Linked DNA regions of Homo sapiens: region 1 is linked to region 2. Evidence: promoter capture Hi-C in 16 types of primary human blood cells and fetal thymus (Javierre and others, 2016). All regions are on one chromosome and are shown on one strand. Each heading gives the region's core, a stretch centred on a gene start or on the middle of the fragment in contact. The rest is flanking DNA. Distances are from core to core; before and after follow the strand shown. Region 1 overlaps ARHGAP42-AS1 (ARHGAP42 antisense RNA 1). Region 2 holds the start of DYNC2H1 (dynein cytoplasmic 2 heavy chain 1).

Evidence for each region. Contacts are between HindIII fragments. The CHiCAGO score rates a contact against its expected background, and 5 or more counts as called.
Region 1: a contact is called between a fragment that was not itself captured here and the fragment with the promoter of DYNC2H1 in region 2, in 1 of 17 cell types (total B cells). The highest score is 5.1, in total B cells.

What each region holds. Positions count from the first base shown.
Region 1 is chr11:100,681,644-100,684,926 of GRCh38, forward strand. It overlaps ARHGAP42-AS1 (ARHGAP42 antisense RNA 1), which reads right to left. Exons shown (of 2, transcript NR_133571.1): 2 at 2,518-3,283. It overlaps LOC124902736 (a long non-coding RNA gene), which reads left to right. Exons shown (of 3, transcript XR_007062860.1): 3 at 1-267. Among named protein-coding and RNA genes, the nearest start is that of ARHGAP42, 4.0 kb to the right of the region's middle. The HindIII fragment of the contact is 2,291 bases long and covers 677-2,967 here.
Region 2 is chr11:103,107,701-103,111,210 of GRCh38, forward strand. DYNC2H1 (dynein cytoplasmic 2 heavy chain 1) reads left to right here and starts at 1,726. Exons shown (of 89, transcript NM_001377.3): 1 at 1,726-2,069. The coding sequence starts at 1,875. RefSeq lists enhancers at 1,319-1,438, 1,509-1,558. The HindIII fragment of the contact is 957 bases long and covers 1,301-2,257 here.

The DNA.
Region 1 (3,283 bases), core at 572-3,071, 2.4 Mb before region 2:
TTGCTGCTATAATTTATTAGATTGAAAATTTGATTAGGGCTGGATTGAGGTAAATTTACTCAAAATTACTGTTGTATTTCCAGCATCTACAGCAGCACAGAAATATAACAGATACTTATGAATATTTGTTGAATGTGTGTGTGTGTGTGTGTGTGTGTGTGTGTGTGTGTGTGTGTGTGTGTTTAGCATGGCCTTTTTACCAAGGTAGACCTGGATTGAAATCCCAACTCCAGTACCTTCCAGATATTATACATAAATTTAGGAAAGTTAATCACTTTTCAGTTATAACTTTCCCACTTGTTAAAAATGAAGCTAATCAGGCTGGGCACGGTGGCACATGCCTGTAATCCCAGCACTTTGGGAGGCCGAAGCGGGCAGATCACCTGAGGTCAGGAGTTCGAGACCAGCCTGGCCAACACGGTGAAACCCCATCTCTACTAAAAATACAAAAATTAGCCAGGCATGGTGGCACGTGCCTGTAATCCCAGCTACTCGGGAGGCTGAGGCAGAAGAATCATTTGAACCTGGGAGGCGGAGGTTGCAGTGAACCGAGATGGCGCCATTGCACTCCGGCCTATGGTACAAGAGCGAAACTCCATCTCAAAATAAAGAAATAAATAAAACTTTAAAAGTGGGGCTAATCAGATTTAATACCTATTTCACATGCTTGTGGATAAGCTTAGATGGGGCAATACATGCAAAAACTATCATGCCCAGTATTGGTGGAGGCTGCTTCTTTTCATTTTGTCTCCTTTTCCTGTGCTCTTTATGAAGTTTTCTGTCAGAGTTAGCAAACATCATGATTTGCCACAAGAGGGCAATACTAAATTGAAATCAAAATCTGTGCTAAAAAATGTCTTTTCCTAAATTAAGTGATTACCTCTCTCCCTCTCCTTTTTCCTTCTCCCCACCCCTCATAAATGTAGTTAGTTGTTGAGTATTTCTTGCTTAGACTTCTGTTCTTTTCCTTCAACCCATTCATCCGAAATCTGTCATCATAATAAAATCTAGATTTGGCAGGGACTTTAGAAGTTATATTGTGCAGTGGCTCACACCTGTAATCCTAGCACTTTGGGAGGCTGAGGTGGGAGGATTGCTTGAGTTTAGGAGTTCAAGACCAGCCTGGGCAACATAGCCAGACACCATCTCTTAGAAAAAAGGAGTCATATTGTCACATAGAACAAATTCCACTCTCTGCAGCTATTCTTCCCCTCTAGTTGACCTTGACTTCTGCTTCTGTGTCCCCCTCCGTTAAGCTAACACAACAGCCCTGAGTGTTTGTGCTGCACTTTTCTTTCTGAGAAAGTGCCTCTTAATTATTCTAACTTTACCTCAAACTCAGCATAGGAGACTCAACCTAAAATGTATATTTCTTCTAAAAAAAATAACACTTCTGAGTTGTATAGGCTTAAATCTCAGAGTTATGTTGGATTCTACCTCATCCACAAAAATCACACTATATTTCCTTCCTTTATTTAATCTGCTTACTGCCCATCTGTTGCCCAATCTCATGTGTACTTACCCCGTCTAAATTCTCTTTTCTCATCTCTCAGTCATTTGACTTTTTGGTCTTCCAACCATTGCTCTTTAGTCCATCTATTGGATAATGAGCTCTTGGAATCCATAGACTCATACAATGTGGGCTATGTTCTGTACTCTTCCTGTGAGAGACTCCCATTTCCTACCCCCAGACAAAGCGAAGTTTCTTTTTCAACCCGGACTACATTTAGCATTTGTCTGTGCTTCATGACAACCATGGAGAGGAAGCAGGGAGAGCTGTATGCATTTGAGAGGGGCTCTACAATTTGTGAGAGCATTTTTTTTAAACTGGAAAAGACAATGTTACTAAGTCACATAGGCTCCTGTCACTAATGATGTGTACATTTGCCCATCAGAAATGCAGTGTCATACACCAACTAATTTTTTGAGAAATAGTGATGTTAAGAGCATTGTGTGTGACAATAATAATACTTCTAATAAGGCAGAATAAAAAGATCTCGCCCTCTAAGGGCTTAATCTGAACTTCATTTTTTGGCTGTCAGAAGAGTATTTTAGAAAATTAAGTCAAAAATTAAGTAGGTTCAAATGCTTGTTTCTTTTTGTTTATTTGTTTTGGGTTTTTTAAAATTTTTATCTGTTTAAGATGACAGAGTCTCGTTCCATTGCCCAGGCTGGAGTGCAGTGGCACAACCTTGGCTCACTGCAACCTCTGCCTCCTGGCTTCAAACAATTCTCGTGCCTCAGCCTCCCTAGTACCTGCTGGGATTACAGGTGCACACCACCACACCCAGCTAATTTTTCTATTTTTAGTAGAGATGGGGTTTAATCATGTTGGCCAGGCTGGTCTCGAACTCCAGGTGAAATGCCCACCTGGGCCTCCTAAAGTGCTGAGATTACAGGCTGAGCTACCAGGCCTGGCTCCTCATATGGGTTTTAAATGTATATCTAATTCTTATTTCTTCTTTGCTTCTCTTTTTGATGACTGAATCATCTAAGTGAAATAAGACAGACACATTGTGCAAATATTGTATAATTTCATTTATATGAGATACCTACATTGTCAAATTCATAGAGACAGAAAGTACAATGGTTACCAGGAGCTGGGAGGAGGGGAAACCAAGAAGAAACACTTGGTTTCTGTTTAGTCATCTCTTACCAGGCTTGAACTTAACCTCAGATCAGCTGAGTCTGGGTGGTCTAAATCTACATAATTAATTGAAAAGTAATAATAGCTTGACAATAACACTTACTGAGTACATACGAAGTGCCAGGCTTAAGTGTCAGACATGATCTACGTCAAGAAACAGTTTTAGGCAGATTTACAAATGCCATATTAGTTTACTATCCTCTACTATCTATTTGCTCTCAAAAGCAAGTAAACAAAGCCCACATATCCCATTCCAGAATCAGGAAAACAAAGAGACATTTCTCTGTGCCAAAGAGCCTGTCAGCCAATAATATTTGCGAAGCTTACCACGCAGCTTACGGTGTCATGTGTTATGAAGTGGAAATTTCTGGACAGGCTATATTTCAATCCATTACATTTGTTTATGAAAACAGGCTTGCAGGTATTGCTGATCTTTTATATAGAAAGTCTATTCTCTAGGAAAGAATCTGGTTCAGTTAATTATGATGGAGAGAATCATGCATGGAAACAACAGTTCAAAACCGACAGTAAACCCACCTCAAAGCAAAAGCATTTCTGGTTTTTCTCAAGTAGCTGTGTTAATGTGGCATAAGAGAAAGCCTGACTAGCAGGTATAATTAAAGTATGAATCATAGG
Region 2 (3,510 bases), core at 476-2,975:
CCACTCTGTGCCTCATTTTTCGTATATAGTAGTGAAAAGGAAACACAAAACTTCTATTTCATGGGGTTTACATGTCAACGGGAGCTTCCATGTTTGAGATCGGTGTTAAACTTGATTCAAACACAATTTCATAGTTTGTGGAAGCCCTAAGTTTCCTGAAGAGTTCTAAAAATTCTTGGGAGGATCACATACTCATGATCTCATCTGCTTTCTAGACTCATCTTCCTACATGTGTTGCCTTTTTATTTACCATATTGTTATGGAAGCTCAATTCAGCCATTTCATACATTTCCACCAAAACAACTCACCAAACCGAGCACTTGTGGGTAATGGAGACTTTCCTGAAGACCTTGGTAAGAGTGATAATGCTCATTGCAGAGCAGGAAACTCTGTAACCATAGTGGTCACTTTGGCTTTCAAAATCTTTTTATTAGCTACACAGTCATCTTGGGTTCCTGTTAGGATTTTTTCCCTCACCCAGTGGTCAGCATCCCACCTCACTGTTTGGATGTTTTCCCATCCAGTGGCCAGACTCCCATCTCTCACTGTTTGGATATTTCATGAGAATTTACATTCATTTCCTTTTATAATTTAGAGCAGTTCAGCTTTTTTAAGTTCCCACTCCAAAATCTTAAGTTGCTCAGCAAATAAAAGGACTCTCTCCTTCCAATTCTCAAATAGTATAGTTTTAAGGGGAGGTTATGATTATTAAGTGCAAACAAAAAAAATCTGCATATGTTTGTGTACCCTAGGATCTTGGGTCAAACCAGTGCTGAGGTGATGAATGACTACAGCAAAAACTTCCTGAGGGCAGGAACTGTGTCCCCAGGGCCTAGTTCGGTACTTGGCAAATTGTGTTAGATTGGTGCAAAAGTAATTACAGTTCTTGCCAAAAAACCGCAATTACGTTTGCACCAACCTAATAGCATGTAGTAAATATTTTTAGAAGAGAATTACTGAATTGAGAAAGTGTTTGACGAATGTTCGGATGAATGACCAGCAATTTAGTAGTTTATAGTAATGCCATGAAGTAGAAAATGACAAAGACCGTTTTCATATCTGTATTTTCACAGAATTTGGTTGCGGTTGTTATAAAATAAACTAAAAAGTATCATTTTACATTTTAGCTATTTTACAAATATGGTTGTGCTCGGGTAATGATTGCAATAAAAAATTGCTGGTTAAATTATTCTAAAATTAATAATAGAAAAAACGATGTTGGGAAATGCAGCAGCACAGAAAGGAGCAGAGGGCGACTGAGAAAGTAAATTAACATTGTATTGAATTCCTAGTCTTTATAAGCTTCTCTAAAAAGCGATTTTTAAATAGTAATCTTTTACAATCCGCACTACACCCCTGGTTGTGAGATAGTATTTCCCCTTCTTAACAGATGTGTACCTTGACGCTGACAGACTGGTTTGCTACCAGGTGCACGTGGAGAGCGAGCACTGGAACCCAGCTCTCCTAAATCTAGATCACGCTGCTGTACTTGAAGGCTAGATGTCTCTCTTCTGATTATGCGTGATAAGAAATCAGTAAGAAGAATAAAAGACATGTTTGAGAGCCAACATAAACTTGTCCGAACCCCTTACAATCGATGACCGCAGGGAGCCGCTGAAGAGCTCCGAGGCGGTCGATAGCCTCCGCGAGCTTTGCGTGCGCGTGCCCCGAGAGGGCAACGCCCACCGCGCGCCGCCAGCGACGCCGCCGTAGTGCTCCGTCGCCATAGCGACTACCCCTGGCAACCGCGAAGCTCTGCGGTCCCGCGGTCGGGCTACGGGTTTGAGCAAAGCTCCTCTCTTCCCTTCACTTCCCTCCGGACTGGTTTCTTCTTCCTTCCCCCTTCCCCCAACTTCCCTCCACCCCTTCCAATCATGGCGAACGGGACTGCGGACGTTCGGAAGCTCTTCATCTTCACTACTACCCAGAATTACTTCGGGTTGATGTCTGAACTCTGGGATCAGCCACTGTTGTGCAACTGTCTTGAAATCAACAACTTCTTGGATGACGGCAACCAGATGCTCCTCAGGGTGCAGCGATCCGACGCAGGAATCTCCTTTTCCAACACGGTACGGTTCCTTGCACTCCTGCCTGACCCCTGACCACTCTTCAAGTCCCCAGGCCCAGCCAGAGGGACGTCGGGTCACACTCTTTAGCTTTACCAACCAGATCCTTTTCAGGAACCCAAGGCTGTCTCCACTTCTCCTGCATTATTGGCTTAGATGCGTTGGCCTCGTGCTTAAGCAGGTAGTTTCCAAGCTTTGCATCCTACCTGACCGAAGCATGTTTCCCTTCCATACATCTGAATAGAAGCAATTAGATTGTGTTTTATTTTAAATTTTTATACGGAGTTTCGTTCTGTCGCTTAGGCTGGATGGAGTGTAGTGGCGCGATCTCTGCTCACTGCGTCCTCCACCTCCTGAGTTCAAGCGATTCTCGTGCCTCAGCCTCCCGAGTAGCAGGCGCGCGCCGCCACGCCTGGCTAATTTTTGTATTTTCAGTAGAGACGGGGGTTTCACCACGTTGGCCATGTGGGTCTCCATCTCCTGACCTCAAGTGATCCGGCCTCCCAAAGTGCTGGGATTGCAAGCATGAGCCACCGCGCCCGGCCTATATTCTACTTTTTAAGAAAGACTGCAGATACGTTATAACTAAAAAGAAAACATTTACTTAGTTATTTTTATTTTTTTCTCTCCCCTTTTTGAGTTTTTTTTTTGGGGGGAAGGCAAATTCTAGTCTATCTTTTTTGGATCAGGCTCTGATTTTAACATTGCCCAAGGGAAAGATTAGTTAGGAATTTAAATTTTTGTGAAATGATATATTTCAAAATAAAGTTTGAATTCTTTTTTGGTGTACATCATGTGATATACTGATTTATTAATTGCACTGCTCCCTCCACTGGCAGGATTGCTTAAAAAATGGGTTGCATTTGCAATCAGGGCTTATATATATAAGCCTAAAAGAAAAACACAGAAGAAAATTGCCTGACACATTAAAGGGGACTCAGTAAATAGATTTAAGTTAATAAAACAAAGACATATTTTAAACCTCTTCCTTTGGTGTTCACCCTTATCCCTAGGTCTAGCAGAGTTTTTGACACTCAGCAAAAACATTCAGTGCCTTTTTTTTTTTTTTTAGACGCAGTTCGCAGTTTCGCTCGTATTACCCAGGCTGGAGTGCAATGGCACAATCTTGGCTCACTGCAACCTCTGCCTCCCGGGTTCAAGCGATTCTCCTGCCACAGCCTCCCAAGTAGCTGGGATTACAGGGCATGTGCCACCACACCCAGCTAATTTTTTGCAATTAGTAGAAATGGGGTTTCACCATGTTGGTCAGGCTGGTCTCGAACTCCTGACCTCAGGTGATCCACCCGCCTTGGCCTCCCAAAGTGCTGGGATTACAGGTGTGTGCCACCGTGCCTGGCTTCAGTGCATTTTTATAGGATGATTGAATCATTCACCCTATTCACTATCTTTATTCTTAGGTTTAATTCGATTGTATTTAATAAAC